Linked DNA regions of Homo sapiens: regions 1, 2, 3, 4 and 5 are each linked to region 6. Evidence: promoter capture Hi-C in 16 types of primary human blood cells and fetal thymus (Javierre and others, 2016). All regions are on one chromosome and are shown on one strand. The core of a region is centred on a gene start or on the middle of the fragment in contact, and the rest is flanking DNA. Distances in the headings are between cores, read along the strand shown. Region 1 overlaps TAF4B (TATA-box binding protein associated factor 4b). Region 2 has its middle 17 kb from the start of LINC01543. Region 3 overlaps LOC124904273 (a long non-coding RNA gene). Region 4 overlaps TAF4B (TATA-box binding protein associated factor 4b). Region 5 has its middle 8.1 kb from the start of LINC01543. Region 6 holds the start of SS18 (SS18 subunit of BAF chromatin remodeling complex).

What was found. The method cuts DNA at HindIII sites, captures the fragments that hold promoters and counts their contacts. A CHiCAGO score of 5 or more calls a contact.
Region 1: a fragment that was not itself captured here is called in contact with the fragment with the promoter of SS18 in region 6 in 4 of 17 cell types (activated CD4 T cells, naive CD8 T cells, non-activated CD4 T cells and 1 more); the score reaches 20.6 in activated CD4 T cells.
Region 2: a fragment that was not itself captured here is called in contact with the fragment with the promoter of SS18 in region 6 in 1 of 17 cell types (activated CD4 T cells); the score reaches 5.0 in activated CD4 T cells.
Region 3: a contact is called between a fragment that was not itself captured here and the fragment with the promoter of SS18 in region 6, in 2 of 17 cell types (activated CD4 T cells and naive CD8 T cells). The highest score is 7.1, in activated CD4 T cells.
Region 4: a contact is called between a fragment that was not itself captured here and the fragment with the promoter of SS18 in region 6, in 6 of 17 cell types (activated CD4 T cells, non-activated CD4 T cells, naive CD8 T cells and 3 more). The highest score is 18.6, in activated CD4 T cells.
Region 5: a contact is called between a fragment that was not itself captured here and the fragment with the promoter of SS18 in region 6, in 1 of 17 cell types (activated CD4 T cells). The highest score is 5.3, in activated CD4 T cells.

Annotation. Positions count from the first base shown.
Region 1 is chr18:26,361,901-26,364,657 of GRCh38, forward strand. All of the region lies in intron 14 of TAF4B (TATA-box binding protein associated factor 4b), which reads left to right. Among named protein-coding and RNA genes, the nearest start is that of LINC01543, 60 kb to the right of the region's middle. The HindIII fragment of the contact is 2,090 bases long and covers 273-2,362 here.
Region 2 is chr18:26,438,328-26,441,052 of GRCh38, forward strand. No RefSeq gene overlaps it. Among named protein-coding and RNA genes, the nearest start is that of LINC01543, 17 kb to the left of the region's middle. The HindIII fragment of the contact is 2,171 bases long and covers 358-2,528 here.
Region 3 is chr18:26,551,502-26,554,201 of GRCh38, forward strand. The region is part of intron 1 of LOC124904273 (a long non-coding RNA gene); the gene reads left to right. It also overlaps a transcript of KCTD1 not described here. Among named protein-coding and RNA genes, the nearest start is that of KCTD1, 4.3 kb to the left of the region's middle. The HindIII fragment of the contact is 1,991 bases long and covers 297-2,287 here.
Region 4 is chr18:26,384,895-26,387,780 of GRCh38, forward strand. The region is part of intron 14 of TAF4B (TATA-box binding protein associated factor 4b); the gene reads left to right. Among named protein-coding and RNA genes, the nearest start is that of LINC01543, 37 kb to the right of the region's middle. The HindIII fragment of the contact is 4,105 bases long and covers 1-2,886 here.
Region 5 is chr18:26,413,511-26,416,210 of GRCh38, forward strand. No RefSeq gene overlaps it. Among named protein-coding and RNA genes, the nearest start is that of LINC01543, 8.1 kb to the right of the region's middle. The HindIII fragment of the contact is 3,518 bases long and covers 1-2,700 here.
Region 6 is chr18:26,089,339-26,092,038 of GRCh38, forward strand. It overlaps SS18 (SS18 subunit of BAF chromatin remodeling complex), which reads right to left and starts at 1,275. Exons shown (of 11, transcript NM_001007559.3): 1 at 1,163-1,275. The coding sequence starts at 1,231. RefSeq lists an enhancer at 1,610-1,729. The HindIII fragment of the contact is 4,894 bases long and covers 1-2,700 here.

The DNA of each region.
Region 1 (2,757 bases), core at 68-2,567, 270 kb after region 6:
AATTGGGGTGTGCTATTTCATCATTAAGTATATTCCTATAAATATGCTTTGTTAGCATACATTTTATTTTGTGGCAAGAGTAGTTACTTGTAACTTTTAATTCCTTTGAGAATGTGTTATAGGCATGTCTAAGTTCCTGACTTTTCTACTACAGTAACATTATACAACAAATTATGTTAAATGTTTGCTTTGTGAGAAATCATCAGAGCACATGGGATAAGTATATGTGCTTTAGACTCAGAAAAATCTGGGTTTGCTTCTTGACTCTGTTAAGCTTTGTAACCTTGGATGAGTTCTTTAAACCCCATACCTCAATTATCCCCACCTGTAAAATGGGCATATTGCCTGTCTTATGTTTTAAGGATTGGTTTATGTGAAGTACTTAATTAGTGTCTGGTCTCAAGTAAGTGCTTAATGAATTGTCATATTTGTAATCATAGTAATAATTCCATGATTTTGGCTTTTAATAGTATTTTATCAGTAGCATTAATGGCCCATAGTGAATTTGCAATGTTAATCATTAATCTCTCCTGAGCATCAATTCTTATTCTCCTTTGAATTTGTCACAAATTTTAGAGAATACTTTCTAATTTATAATAAACAGATTTTTAGGTGTTTTTATTTATTATATGTTTGAATCTGAGAAAATCCATTGGTTAGGGAGAAAACCGAATGTGCTGTTTGTGTTCAAAACAATGATAAAAACCATTATGTGATTTATCTACAATAAAATGCAAAATTATTTAATTTTTAGTTTCAAAACAGATGTTTACTAACTTGGATATAAATATATTGAATTGTCTGTCACTTGGTGCTTCTTTAGTTTTGAGAACTCAGGCATGCATATTTTCCCCTGTACTTCCTGTACTTTAAGCTGAGATAATAGTCATATAATCAGTCCTTTGGATCTGTGGGTTCTGTCCACATCTGTGTATTCAGCCAACTGCAGATCAAAATTATTCGGAGGAAAAAACATCACATAATAAAAAATAACACTACAACAATTAAAAACTATACTAAATTTAAAAATACAGTATTACACTATTTATATAGCATTTACATTGTATTATGTAGTATAAGTAATCCAGAGGTGATTTCAAGTATACAGGAAGATATGCGTAGGTTACATGCAAATACTATGCCATTTTATATCAGGGACTTGAGCGTCTTTGGTTTTTGCTATCTATATCTTGGTGCCAGTCCCCCGAGGATACCAAGGGATGACTATAATGTCAATTTGAATTGAAAATATCTATTTCTTTAATCAGCTGGTGACATTTTTAGTACAATTATTATTTTGAAATTTGCTGAACACTAGTTTCCTTGTTGTTGATTTTTATTCATGGTGTTTTAACTTTAAAGGCATTTTTGTTTTCAAAATGAGAGACAGGCTGGGTGCAGTGGCTCCAGCCTGTAATCCCAGCATTTTGAGAGGCTGAGGAGTGTGGGTCACAAAACCCTGTCTCTACCAAAAAAAAAAAAAAAAAAAAAAAAAAAAGGCAGCGCGTGGTGGTGTGCGCCTGTAGTTCCAGCAACTTGGAGGGCTTAGGAGGGAGGATAGCTTGGCCCAGGAGGTCAAGGCTGCAGTGAGCTGTGATCAGGCCACTGCACTCCAGCCTGGGTGACACAGTAAGACCCTGCCTAAGAAAAAAATAAAAGAAAAAAGGAGAGAGAGGAGAGAGCCCTATTGCATGCTCCTTCAATGTTTAGGTATACTGCTGATTTGCATTAGTTACAATTGTTAGAAACCTTTATTCACTTGCTTTATTTCTTCACAAATAACACAAAAATGATGTATGAAACCATTTTTACTTTCAATATTCTGTACTCTGGAAACAAAGCCTTTACTTTTTGTTTGCTTCTTTATCGATGGGAACCTGAAATCTTAACATGTTTGAGTTAAATTTTTTAGAATCAGCATATAATCCCAGAGAGAAGTGGGAGTAGAATCTAGTTCTTCAGAGGGTAACTCTTTAGTTTGAATGCAGGTTTTTTCCTACTAAAAGGGAGCACTCTCAGTTGGGAAGATTGAATAGAATGATGGTAGTTTTTAAAAAAATGTAACATTCAAAAACATAGCACTTTAACATTCGAAGATTACCTTTATTGTTGCTAAGAAATTGGAGAAATTAGTTTTAGACCTTTGTCCTTGAGTATTTTTTGTTATGATAAAGCAAAACTTTTCTCATTAAATATGATCTATTTGTATAATTTATATATTAACCTAGCCTTTGGAAATTTACACTTGATATTCTCTGAAGTCTTGGTAAAATTGAATAGCATCAGCTGCTATCTCCTTATGTTATCCTGACAAAGAGCAGCAAGTACCAATTACAATTTTGAATAAGATATTTATACCATAAGCTTATTGGCTAGTGGGTCGCAGGAGGGTGGAAAAATAGTTAAAATGTACTATTTGGGAGTACTTTGAAATGTGTCCTTTCCTTTTGCTGCTGTGGTTTGAAGTTATATATATGAAATTAGTTTTTAAATTAATGTAGGCCGTACAGATATTGATACAGTAAAATAAAACCTACTTTAAGATTTAGAGTATTTGTATGTGTGTATTGTTTATATGTATTGTATCGGTGATGTGTTTGGGGTTCTTTGGAATTTTAAAACATTAATCACTTTACTTCCTGTGTTAATTAGAGATCCTTGGATTAGAAAGATTCTCTTTTCCCCCATTAGCTATACTTTCAAATATTTTGCATGCCTTATTAATGATCCAGCAACGTTTTTTTTTAGCACAAAGAT
Region 2 (2,725 bases), core at 193-2,692, 350 kb after region 6:
AGAATGGACTTCAAATTGGAAAGGGTGGAACAAAGTATGGAAGGAACTGGACCTCAGGACAGGGGCAGAGTGTGGGCTGGCCCCTGGTGGCTTACCTGAATTGGAGCTTCTCGGTTTAGATGAAATACATTTCCAGATAAGGACAGACCTGTAGATGTGTTAACTACTGAGATTTCCCGGAGAAAGTGGAAGAGTGGCAATGGAATATCAGTAACAATAAAAAATCAGTAACTAGGAACAAAATCAACAATGTTCCTAGTTATCTAAAAGGGTACAAAAACATCTAAAATCAACTATTAATGGCACCTTTTCTGCATTATGTATTAAGTGGAATTTTTACTTTTATTTTTAGACAGAAGCTTGCTCTGTCACCCAGGCTGGAGTGTGGTGGTGTGATCTTGGCTCACTGCAACCTCCACCTCCTGGTTCAAGTGATCCTTGTGCCTCAGCCTCCCAAGTAGCTGGGATTACAGGCATACGCCAACACACCCAGCTAATTTTTGTATTTTTTCTAGAGACGGGGTTTTGACATGTTGGCCAGGCTGCTAGCAAACTCCTGGACTTAAGTGATCCGCCCACCTGGGCCTCCCAAAGTGCTGAGATTACAGGCATGAACCACCGTGCCCTGCTGGGTGGAATTTTTTAATTGCAAATAATATAAACCAATTTATATAGCTTAAAGAAAGTGGAGCTTACTCCGACAGTACAGAGCTGTCTCACAAAAGTGACAGCAGGGACCCACCAGGCCTCAGGAGTCAACCAGAACCAAGAAATCAACTGCTGTTGTTGCTGCTTCTGCTGTACCCCGGCCTCTGAATTTTCTCTTGCCCGTGAACTTGGCAGCCCACAGAGCTAAGGCTGATAGTTCCTCTTTTTGACAGCGCAGCCAGACAGAGATGAGTCTCCTAGACTCAATTATATATTTGCATGTAAGAGACCTGACACAGGTATTCCCTCTGGGCCGATCAATGAGGGTGGTGGTGTCCTGGGTAAATGTAGCTTCTCCATTTATGGTGCAGTGGAGGAAAGGGTGTATGTGTGTGTGTGTGTTCTGTTCAGAAAGTTGGGCAGGGGATAGGGAACTGTTCTCAGATGCAGTGTTGTCTAAGCTGACACCCAAGTTTCTTGATAAATTATGCCCTGAATGTTTATGAATAGTGTATCAAAGAAAGCAGATGCCCAGGCCCTTCCAAAGAAGTCATTTCCTTCTTGATGGACATACTAAAGGGATAGAAAGGGAGGATGCAGGGATTTGTAATCAGGAGGATCTGAGTGGAAAAGCCATAAGTGCGCCAGCTTCCTCCTCTTTTTCTTGAGGGGCTAGTGCCAAGTGCAGGGCTGGCTCACAGTGGGTGCTCAGCAGCTCTGAATGCATGAATGAATGAATGAACGAATGAATGAGTGATAGCCTAGTCCTGTGGGTTCACAGCTGTTGGGAACACCCGTACCCAAGTAATGCTGGTGAAGAGGCTGGCATTATCCTAGAGGGAGAACTTTGATGGTGTGCTTCAAGTCAACAGTGATGTCTGTGGCTCGGATGAAGATGGACAGGCCATGCTCAGAGAATTCTCAGATGACTCAAGACTTGAAGGAGTGAATAGCTTCCTGGAGGACAGATGGAAGAACCCCAAAGCATCCAAAACACTAATCCTGTGAAATTTCATGGGGAATAAGGGCCAGTTCTTTCTTTGGTTATAAATGATCAATTGCTCAAGGGATGGGGGATATCTGGCTTGATCAAACCCAAGGTCCGGGTGGTGTCTGCTTCTTAGGTTGCACTAAGTTGAGTACAGTGTCCAGATCAAGGGCATTTTAGTTGAAGAAAATGGGGCTGCTTAATCTGGTAAAGAAAGCAGTAAGGACTGATTCAATGCCTTTCTCCTTAGTGGAGGACAGTGGACCCAGGGGAAGAGCTGTTAGGGCAGCAAAGGCACCCAGCGTGACAGTAGCAAGCTCCTTGTCAAGTCAGTGATGGCTGACCTGGTGAAGGGTGATGCCTTCCCACATTCTTTCTTGTTTGCTCCCCTTAACAGTCTTCAGGTGCAGTTGAGGCAGATGGCAGTGTGCTCTCATTAGCTAAAGAAGCTGGGCCGCTAAAGAGTGTTTAAGTGACCCGCTCAATGTCACATAGCTAAGCTGGAACCCAGGCATTCTGGGTTCCAGGCTACCCATGATAAGCATTGAAGGCGAAGCTGGAAGACCGTGGTGGGGTCTTCCGTGGGATGCCTTCCATGGGAGGGAGAAGAGCTACCTTGAAAGATGCCTAGCTCCCAGTGTCTGTGACTTTGACAAGGGCAGAATGTCAGCCTCTGCTGCAAACTGTCTGTGTCCCTGACTACAGACGATGAGAGGTGGTGAGCAGTTAACATTTTTCCTACCTGTATGCCCTGCTCCATTTCTGAATGAGTTATGTCATTTATTCAACAGGATAATTTAATGATGTAGCCACTTCCGCCGTTGGAACAGTATGTTCTGATACTCATGGCTGTACTTCAAGAGTTGTAACTTCCGGATTAATTGCAGAATCAAGCTTTCATTTATCTGAGATTTCTTAATCAGTGAGAGTGACAAATCAGACACACGTTTAATGTGGGCTAAAAAGTGCTCAGCATTATAACAACTAAATGCAACGTGTGATACTGGACTGGGTCGAGTCAGCAAACAAAACAAAAGAGCTTTTAAAAGAATTACTGGGCTCACGCCTGTAATCCCAACACTGGGAGGC
Region 3 (2,700 bases), core at 42-2,541, 460 kb after region 6:
AGCTCCGGAAAGGCTACCAAAATGATCTGCCCGTAGGATACTTCATTAAATACTGGAAAAGAAGACGTCTTTGGGCTACTATCTATAGGAGTCACGGGAAGAACACCCAGAAAAACAGATATATACCCTGCTTCCCCTCGACCAAAAGAAAAAAAAAAGTTGCTTAATTTTTAAAACCCAATAACACAAAATTACAGTGGAGTTCATAAAGTAGTTCAATTCCAAGTTTAATAAATGATCCCTTAAAAACATCCTGTGGTTCCATACACTCAATTCCAAAATGAAAGAATCAAAAAAGCTTTCTTCTTATTATTTCTGTAGAGGCAATATTGGTTGTCGTTCTGCCTATCAGGCAGCATCCAATTCCTCTACTTGACCTCTCCATATCATGAAGTCCGTTCAGACTACCACCTTGACAATCGAAGCTGCCGGTCACCCCTTTGAAAGGATGCTTTTTATTTCTTGTGCAGGATACATGACTTCTTTATAATCCCAGTACTATAGGGAACATTTATTGCAATTATTTAACTGTCAGAACTCTCTAAACTATGGTAAGATGTTTACAACTTTTAACAAGATTCTCCACCTTTTGCTGGTGGGGGTGGGGGGTCTCTTTGTATATTTGTGCTTCTCCACTTCTCAGAATACTTGAAAATAGTGACATGGTTATTTCGGCATGAAAAACTCCAAATGTTTCCCCCTCGATTCATAACCCAACTACTTCCATTTCAGGCTCACATTTTATGAAAGGTTATACTATACAGAAACATATTCAGCTCTTCCTCCTTTTTGCTTCCAGTTTTCTGAGTATCATCTGTTAATATACTGGATATAGTTGGTTTTTATCTGCCTGTTTCCTCTCTACTAAAGCAACACACACCCTTGTAGTTTCAGTCTGGTGCCTGGGGACATGGTGAGCACTTGTCATTTATATTGAATGAAGAGAATCTGTGTTTGGTTAAATCTTACATTTAGCAGGGAAGTTTTTGTGAAAAATTAAAAATAACATGAATCTGAAGCTCTGTATTAAAAATCAGGACAAATAGTAACTACAAGGCAACATTATTGTTTGCAAGTTAAAATGAATTTAATGGCTGCTTTGGATGAATATTTCCTTATCATTAATTCCCTCTCTAGTGGAACATGCTTTAGAAACTTATTGCAGAAGTAGAGTGAGGGACCCTTTTCTTGCAGTAGAGTTAATGTTGCCCCTTCTGAAGGCAGATCTGGGGAATGGAAGTGTCTCTATTAAGAGAGGTGGGCTGGGGAGGATTTAAATTGTTAAATTTCAGAAATTTTGTGGGCTCTTGAGAGCAGAGGCCAGAAAAAGCATTTAGTTCATCATTTTAAAGACACAAATTAAAAGAGACGCCATACTGTCTTGATGTAATTACTGAAAGATTCATAAAGGGCTTTCAAGGCTAAATATGAATTCAAATTGAAACTATTTTGGTATATCTTGGTTTTAGAGGTTTCTTTTTCTTTCTTTTTTTTTTTTTTTTCTTTTGAGACAGGGTCTTACTCTTTCACCCAGGCTGGAGAGCAGTGGCATGATTATGGCTCACTGCAGCCTCAACTTCCTGGGCTCAAGTGATCCTCCCATCTCATCTTCCCAAGTAGCTGGGACTACAGGCCTGCTCCACCAAGCCTTCCTAATTTTTGTATTTTTTGTAGAGATAAGTTTCCCCATGTTGCCTATGCTGGTCTTGAGCTCCTGGTCTCAAGTGAGCCACCACTCCTGTCTCAGAGTTTAGCTATTAATTCTGTTGAATTCAACTGAGAATCATCTTGAGTAATGTTTTTTGAACTCAGATGAAAATTGAACCCATGTCATCTAAGTTGACAAAGTGTAAGAAAAGAAAAATAACTCCACAGGAGCAGAAACTTTGTCTTATTTATTTCTGTATTTCCAGTTCATTTCCAATTCAGTTTCTTGGTATATTTTAGCAGAGTGACTGGCACATAGTAGATACCCAATAAATATACGCACATTTATGTGTGGGGAGAAAGCTAACTTCAACAAAAGGCTGTATAGCAGAGTGGTGAAAAACTCTCTCTGAAGCCAGCCTACCTGGGTGTGAATCCTAGTTTGCCTTACTAGCCACCCTTTTCTATGGCTCAGTTCTCTCATTTTATTACCTGGGTGATAATGATAACAGTCCCTACCCCTTGGGATTGTTTTGAGAATTAAATAAGTTGATATGCACAAAACACTTAACACATTGTCTGGAACATTCATACACATTTGACCATTACTTCTTATTTATTAAGGCTCTATTGTTTCCCAAGCTTGATAGCAAACAAGAAAACTAAGGCCAGAGAGGGTAAAAAAAAAAAAAAAAAAGGTGAAGACATTTGCCCAAGGTCTCCCAGACCTGACCAGGGCAGGCAAGTCTGGTTCCATAGGCCATGCTTGAACCACTTGACCATATTCAGCCTCTAGGAACCAAAGAATGAAGAGAGAAAGAGAGACAGAGAGAAAGAAAAGAAAAGATAAAAAGAAAAAAGAAAAGAAGATGAAAGAAAAGAAAGGAAGGAAAGAATGAAAGAAATAGGAAGGAAAGAAAGAATCTTCAATAATTCAGAAAGAAAGAAAAAGAAGGAAGGAGGGAAAGAAAGAAAAGAGAAAGAAAGAATAATCAAGGGAACAATTCAGAAGGAAAGAAAAAGAAAGAAGGAAGGAAAAAAGAAAGAAAAGAG
Region 4 (2,886 bases), core at 280-2,779, 300 kb after region 6:
AGTGTTTGCCACCATTCAGTTCTGTATATCTTATGCCGCCTAGCACAGTTCTTGCCCATAGTAGGTACCCAGTAACCCAGAGAATTTTGAATGGAATCAGAACGTAGACTAGCATGAAGCTACATTACCGTGGATGGTGGCTCTTGGGAGGAGAGGCCCGTATGGAGTCACTGCAAACCCCAACAGGATTCCCGAAGCCACTGGGTTCATAAAGATGTCCTTTCTGCTTCTGACTTAGAGCAGTCATCCAATTTAAGGAAATGTGGAAAAAGAAGTAGAAAAATCTTTAAAGGTTTTATTTCACAACACTGCTGTATTAAGTTGAGGGATAAAAATTGGATTACTAGTTATTTTTGGTTATTTAGTATCATTATTAAAATGGTGTTATTTATCTAAAATTGATAACTGATGATTTTCCATTTTTTCTTGTTAGAGCAATAGAGTTCCTCAGAAGTTTCATTATAAAAACAAGAAACTTAGTTCAGTGGTATAACAAAACAAATTAGGTGAGATAAGTTGTTAGTGGGCTGGGTAACATTAATGAGTAACAATTATGAAGGCTAACATAATTGATCTGGCAATTTTAGAAGATGTTAACATTTAGGTTTGAGTAGGCTTCCTAGGACATCTTTTGTGCACCTGGGAAATGAATTGGTCGTTTCATCTTTCATTTTCATCCAGGTGAAGAATCCAGATTAAGGAATATCCTCATGTAGAAAGTTACATGGGAAAACCTTCTATTTCCGAAGTGAACAGTACACTAACAGTGAGAAGAATAAACAGCGTTTTTTTTTTTTTTTCTTCTTCTTCTTCTTCTTCTTGCAAACTCTGGGCCCTTAACCACATTAGTATTCTTTGTGATTTCTAATGTGACCAGAAATCAGTCCTAGTCAACTCTGGGGAAAGGACTTGGTGAGGCAGAGGAAAATTAAAACTGATGGTGAAAAAGCAGGTTTGGTTTTTATGGCTGTAAGTTACCTGTGCACTCTCTACCCCCTTGACTGTGGATAACTGAGAGTAGCTGGTTATTCTGGCCAGGTCATTGTGATTGACAAGTTACAGTTGTGGACTTTGCCAAATCAAAGCTCAGGAATAAAAATGCTATATATTTTGTATTCAGATTCAAGAAAGATTGACTTTCTAAGTTAGCTGCTATTTGGGGGAAGAGAATGCTATCACCTTCATAAAGTTGTGAATTATGAAAGACATTTCTGTTGGGTTACTGAATGTCCCTTGGGGTTTTTTTCATTTATAACATTGCCTCAGGCTCTCTGCTGCATCCTGTTGGAATGACCTTCTTTTCAACTCTGTGCTGGCAGCTGTAATATGGCTCTTTCCCCTGAATCCTTCAGGCTTGTCACATGACAAACATGAACTGTGACCCCTTTGTTCCTTACTCAGATGATTAGGTCTCTTTATTTTTTTTTTCTGTTTGACAATTTTGCCTTATTGTCTTTCCTTTCCCCCCTCTCTTTGCTTCCATGTTAATTTCCTCCTGAGGCAAGGTTTTTGGGGTAGCAATTTAATTTTTTTTATTGAAATATAGCATCAATATAGAAAGTACACAAGTCATAAGCTCACCACAGTTTTCACAGCATGAACACATTCATGTAGGCAGTAGTTAGATCAAGAAGGAAACATCACCAGAACTCCAGAAAACTTCAGTCTCTTTCTAATCACTTCTCATCTCCCCCATGGGAACTCACTCTCCTGACTTTTTTTTAGCTTTGCCTGTTCTGGGACTTGGTAGAAATTGAATCATACAGTATGAATTCCTTTGTGTCTGGTTCCTTTCATTGAACATTTTTGTGATACTCTTTCATGTTACCCAGTCGTTATTGCTGTGTATTATTCCATGGTATGACTATTCCACAATTTATTGTACTCTTAATGTACTCACTCGGATTGTTTCTAGCTTAGGGCTCTTGTGAATAGTAGTCATCCTTATACATATCTTTTGATGAACCCATGGCATATTTCTGGGTGTTTACATAGATGTGGAATTGCCAAGACATTGTGTCTGTCTAGCCAGTTATTTTAAAATCTCATATAAAACACCAAAGTACTGATTTTAGGAAAACTCTTAGAAGATTTATAAACATATAGATACAGTTTTAGCATAATGTATCTAATTTATGGCTAAAGAAATTGCCTCTAGTTAAATGTATTGTAGTTGTTTTTTGTTTTTTAAGACAGAGTCTCACTCTGTCACCCAGGCTGGAGTGCAGTGGCATGATCTTGGCTCACTTCAACCTCTGCCTCCCAAGTTCAAGCAGTTCTTCCACCTCAGTCTCCCGAGTAAGTGAGCTTACAGACGCACACCACCATGCCTGGCTCATTTTTATTTATTTTTTGTTAGAGGTGGGGTTTCACCATGTTAGCCAGGCTGGTCTCGAACTCCTGACCTCAAGCGATTTGCTTGCCTTGGCCTAAATATGTTGTAGTTTTAAATGGGTTACTCCTGTAAACAACAAAATTTCCACTCACTGCCAATTACATGTTTTAGTAACTTTCTTCCTAATATGTACTTTTTATTCAATTTTCCAAACAAAACTGAGCTTTTGGTCCCATTCCGCAAAAATCTTATGAAGATATTTTGATGGTAATAATTTACAATAGTTAAAGTTACATCTGAGTTACACCATCTCTGAGTGTTGATGCTAGCAGAGTGGCATGCTAGTGCTTCACTGCCAGGCTTAGCTGAAGTACCAGAGGCTTACACTTGTACAAATTGCATTCATTACCAAGAACCCTGCAGAAGTGGCGAGAGACTGGCTCTATACTGTAGATGGGCTCTGGGATAAGTAGCCGAACAATTGGGCAGCTGAGACCAATTTTTTTCCCTCTTTTAGAACGTGGACTTTCCAAAATTGTTTCCATGGATAC
Region 5 (2,700 bases), core at 135-2,634, 320 kb after region 6:
TTCCTGTCTCACACACAAAAATTTTTTTTGTTTTGTTTTTTTCTCTTGGATTGTCTGAATTGGATCCACCCATTTCTTTCTTCTTTTTAGAATAAACATTATTTTTCTTGTGTAATTTTATTCTTACTAGCTTGGGAATGATACACTTTATTCTTTATTATTATTCTAAAAATTCTAACTTATCAGTCTGAAGTTAATTAGTATTTTTTCTCTCTAAATAGTATATAGTTCAGAATACTTTAAATCCTATCAACAAACCCCTTCCCTAATCTTAGATCATGTGCTATTGGTGTCTTATATTTTGGTTCTAATTTTTAACTCTATAAGACATGATTATTACTTTTTTTTTTTTTTTTTTTGAGACAGGTCTCACTCTGTCACCCAGGCTGGAGTACAATCGTGTAATCTTGGCTCACTGCAGCCTCAACCTCCTGGGCTCAAGCAATTCTCCTGTGCCAGCCTCCCATGTAGCTGGGACTGGAGGTGCGCACCATCACACCTGGCTAATTTTTTTATTTTTCTGATTTTTTGTAGAGCTGAGGTCTCCCTGTGTTGCCCAGGCTGGTCTCGATCTCCTGGACTCAAGTGATCTTCCTGTCTAGGCCTCCCAAAGTGCTGGGATTACAGGCATGAGCCACCATGCCTGGCCTATTTCGTGATTTTTGACTGTGAGCTCATATCTGTAGAAATTATTTGATGCTAGGTTGAGTAAGTTTCTCTTGGGAAGGTTTGTACTTACCTCTTCCAGGCATCTGGGGGAACCACCAGTCATAGGCATCTTTTAACTAAATATTCAACTTGAGGTTTTTTTCTTCTACTCAGGTTCAAGGTTGAAAGAGGCAAACTCCTTGCTTCCCCTTGAGGGAGGGAGTGGGTGAATCTATTTCCTAGTTAATTAACTGGAAGATATAACCCATTAGGGTTCTAGATTTATGGAGGGGGCTCTTCTATTGGCCTCCCCACCTTGACCAGGCCCTGTTTTTTTCACCCAGCAAGGCTGTGAAAATAAAAATTCAAATTTACTTTTAGAGTAAATGTTATTAAGATATAAGGTGGCATTAGAATTCTGCTTATTTTTCTGGGCTTTCACTCTCACCTTTGCTTGGTTTTCAGTCACTTACTTTTTTTTTTTTTTTTTTTTTTTGCCAAACTCATCAATGCTTTCTGTATATCAGCATTGTTCATTATTTTCCATATGAGGATAGGCCAGAGTATCTTCTCCATCAGACTTCGGGAAGCTACAGTCCTCTCGACAGTTACTATTCTAGTTCCTATTCCCAGAGTGCCAATTCTTGCTAGACAAAGTTTTGGGAGTTTCTAACTTCATTCACCTGAATGTTCACTGCTATTTAAAATCTTTTTCCTCTTGGCCTTGACCCCTGGCCCTCTGCTTTCCTACAAGTATGGAGACACCATCAGGTATGAGTTCTCTCCTCTCCTATCCTCTCTACTTTACAATACCTCTTTATCCACTTAATCTTTCCTACTTATTCTTCCCCCCAAGTCTCCCTTGGAGAATTGCCCCTCCTTTCTAAGGCCAAATCCTCTACCCTTGCTATGAATTCCATTTTTGTGGCCAAAATTCCTCTTTCTTTGCTCATGATCTTTTGCCAATTATATTCTTACTAATCGTTCAAGGCTGAGTTTAGTACTTTCTCCCCTGTGATGCCTTTTGAAATGTCCCTTCCCCCTTCATCCCTAATTTCCTCTCGACTCCAAGAGCACTTTGTTATTAACATAACATTAACACAGGACTTACACTGTTGTAAAAGGGAATTATTTGCATAACTGTCGTTTCTCCTTCTAAATTGTGAGTTCCTTAGAGAAGACACCATTTTCTGCATTATTTCTTACTGTGCGAAACATAATACTTTGCATATAGTGGCTCATTGTAAATGCTTCTTGCCTTCCTTAGAAATCAGTCTCTTCAACAATCTCTTTTCTTTACTCTGTCTTCATTTTCACTAGATCCCTCCTTTCTATGGTCAGACACATTCGAGTATTTTGGAACTTGAAGGGAAAGAAAAAAATCTCTGCTTAATCCTGCTATTTCCCTTTTTATCTTTCTTTTTCTAAATATCTTAAACATATGGTCTGTGACTTCTGTCTTCTTTCTTTACCCTGCATCTTTCTTTAACCGTCTGTAATCTGACCTCCACTCTCACCACTCTACTTAGACTACACTCTTAAAAATGAGTTTCCTTCCGATTACCACAGCCATGTCCTATCTGCAGCTTCTGTTTGATACTCTGAGCACCCCTGGTGGGAGAGCGACCTCTGCCTAGTGTGGCCCTGGGGTGCTGCCAGGGTCTCCTGCCCTCTGACCACTCTTCCTCCCCTCCACCCAAGCCTGTTCTCAGCTCACAGCTTTCCTTCCTATACTGAGGGACCCCCGCCCCACGTTTGTGACTTTAGCTATTATGGATGGGGCTGCTTTTCGCATCTTCATTCTCCTTCCCTAATTTCTTCGAAAACCAAAATCTGAATTCTTAAATTTTTTCCAGACATTTTCATTTGATGCCCCTCTGCTCAAGAAGGCTCCCTTTCCTCAATATGTTCATCTCTTCCATCACTTCCTGGTTCCTTTAGGCTCAACAATCTCAGTTTTGTTTGATCTTTCCCAATTTCTTACTCCTCTCTTTCTCACCCCCTGTGAAGGTGGCTCAGCCTCCACAAAATCTCTCTCGATTCCAGCTGTCT
Region 6 (2,700 bases), core at 25-2,524:
CAGAGCACTATATGAAAGCACTGCATTTCCAGGCACTGCCAAGCCCGTTTGTTCATAAAATAAAGCAACAGTTGGGCAAATGTCAAAAGCCACACTACGAAGAACCTGACAGTAAACAGAAACCGATTAGCATAATCTACGTGGTCTGAGTGGTACTAAAACTTGACCTTTTTTTCTATTTTGATCTTTGCTACACAGCATAAAACAAAACAAAAATATTTAAAGTAAACTGCTAAATACAGCAGCAACTTCTGAAAGTCTAGGTCAGTAAAATTTAGAATGCTGCCTTGCTTGCAGGCAACAAGGGGTAGAGGACAATAAAGAACCTTTGTGTTCCGACTGGCAGTAACACAGCAGCGACTGCAGCAGCTCTATCCTTTAAAAAGGAGGCAGCTCCCTGTGTATTTATCACGACTTACATTAACTGGTCACGACAGTCTCCACCATTAGACTGTAAGCTCCAGGAAGGCAAGGACCATGACTCACCACAGTAGCCTCAGCGCCTAAAATAGGCGCTCAATAAATATTTGCTGCAGAATAAATGAATAGGCGGCGATGCAGAAGGGAAGAAGAGGCTCTGGGGACAACCCCAGAGTCCATGGGGACCTTCCTTGCCCGCTCCTCAAACTCTATACTAAGGTTCCCTCCAGCGTTCCCCAAGTCCTCCTGCGAGCTCCCAAACTCGGCTGAGTTTGCAGGGCGGCGACCAGCGCACCGACTTCCCCTCTGCCTGCCGCGACCCGCGGTGGGGTCCGCACGAAGCAGCCGCGGCACGCGGGGCGGGGCGACGCCAAAGTAACTCCGGAGCAACGCGCGGGGCCGCCGGTCCGACACACGCCCTTCCCTGAGCGGCCGCCGCCGGGCGCACGCGCCCCGCAGCCCGAACGCCGCCCCATCCCTAGAGAAATCAGGCGGCGGCTGTTTGGGCTTTTGTGTCTGTAGAAAAACGCGTAAATGCGTGAAAGACTCCGAGAAAAACCGGTTCACCCTCTTCCGCCACCCACTCAGGCACAGCCAGCAGTCCGTGTTCCCAAACACTGCTGATTCCCAGCAGGCCCGCCTCCGCCTCGGCCCGGTCGACTCCGGGCCCGGCCCTTCCCCCCGCGTCTGTCTCTCCCAGAGGCGGTAAGGGCCTGGCATCCGCAACCCCGCGCGGTTTCACCTTCTGAATCGCAGCGGGAGTGATCTCCCCCTTGCCTCGCTGCCTCGGGGCCGCGAAAGCCACAGACATGTTGCCGCCGTCACCACTATCGGCAAGTCCCGAGCGCTCCGGGTGAACGGCAAACTGGGGGAGAGACGCCGGCCTCTCGGGCTGAACCACCTCGGGAATGCGGGGAGGGGGGATGCTCCGGGGCCAAGCGGACGGGCGGCGGGGCAGGCCTGAAGGAGGCACTCTGGCCAGGGATGTCTCGCTTCTGCGCACTCTGGGGGACCCCTAGCCCTGGCCGAACTTTCTTGACCGTCCCTGCATCCCCCGAGCTCTCCTTATGGGCACCCCCTGGCCCTTTGCGCTAATGGTAGAGTCGCGCCCTAGTCCTCCCTCCGCTTCAGCGATTCAGGAAATGGTCCCGCCGCCGCGGGAGAAGGAGAGGCTGGGGCAGCCCCTGTCACAGGAAATGCGAGCGGCCCAAGCCGGCCCGCCCCCTTCGCGCCGTGGCAACTTGCCTCCCTCTCCGGCCCTCTGAAGCGTCTCCCCGACTGTGTTGCAGAGCGTGCCCTAGACCTAGTTCAGTTTTTCCAACTTCATCCTTACTTACGCCTCCTGGCAAGAGTGGCCGCCCCGAGTTGTCCCGGCAGCCCGGAGAGGGGAGGGAGGTCAAGACTCGGGAGTTCGTGCAAATCCGTGGAGCATCTGCCGAGATAGGGCAGAGGTGGAAGGACAAGGTGAACGCGGATTCGCTGGTTTAAATGGCTCGGCTACGCCCCAAATGCGCACCTCCGAGTCCACAGTCTCGCACGCACGCACAAAGTCGTGCCTAACAATTGGAAAGTAACCCTGACCCGAAACCGGGACACCAAGGTTGTGTCCAGTGCTCAGGGGCAATCGGCCAGCTTGGCTGGAGCGGACAGAGAAGAGCTCGCCTCTTGGGACAAACCCTTAGCAGGAAAGTGGGTCGATTTCGTCTGACTTGGCTTTTTGGAATTAAGTTGTGAAACAGGGCATCCTCACTCTCTGTTTTTTAAGAGAGTACTTACTTAGTGCCTTGTAAATTAGGCCCAAGCTGCCAGGCTTCAAGTCAGTGTAAGGGAAAAAGGCAAAGTTTTCAAATTATGGAAGGAACACGGACAAATGTGGGTTTTGTGTTGCCGTGGGGTTTTAAAGTATTCTGTAAATTTAGACTTCCATATAACACAAAGGGAAAGTTTATATAAAGTGTTACCCAACGTTAATGAATAATAAAAAATATTTCCATTTTTATATAAATTGGAAAAATAAAGAAAAAATACATTATTTTAAAAATTTAATCACTTGAGGCCAGGAGTTTGAGACCAGCCTGGGCAACAAAGTGAGACCTCTGTCTCTACAAGAATTTTAAAAATTGGCTGGGTATGGTGGTGTGCACCTGTAGTTCCAGCTACTAAGGAGGCTGAGGTGGAAGAATCACTTGAGCCAAGGGGGTGGAGACTGCAGTAAGCCATGACTGCCCCACCACACTCCACCCTGGGTGACACAGCAAGACCCTGTCTCAAAAAAAAAAA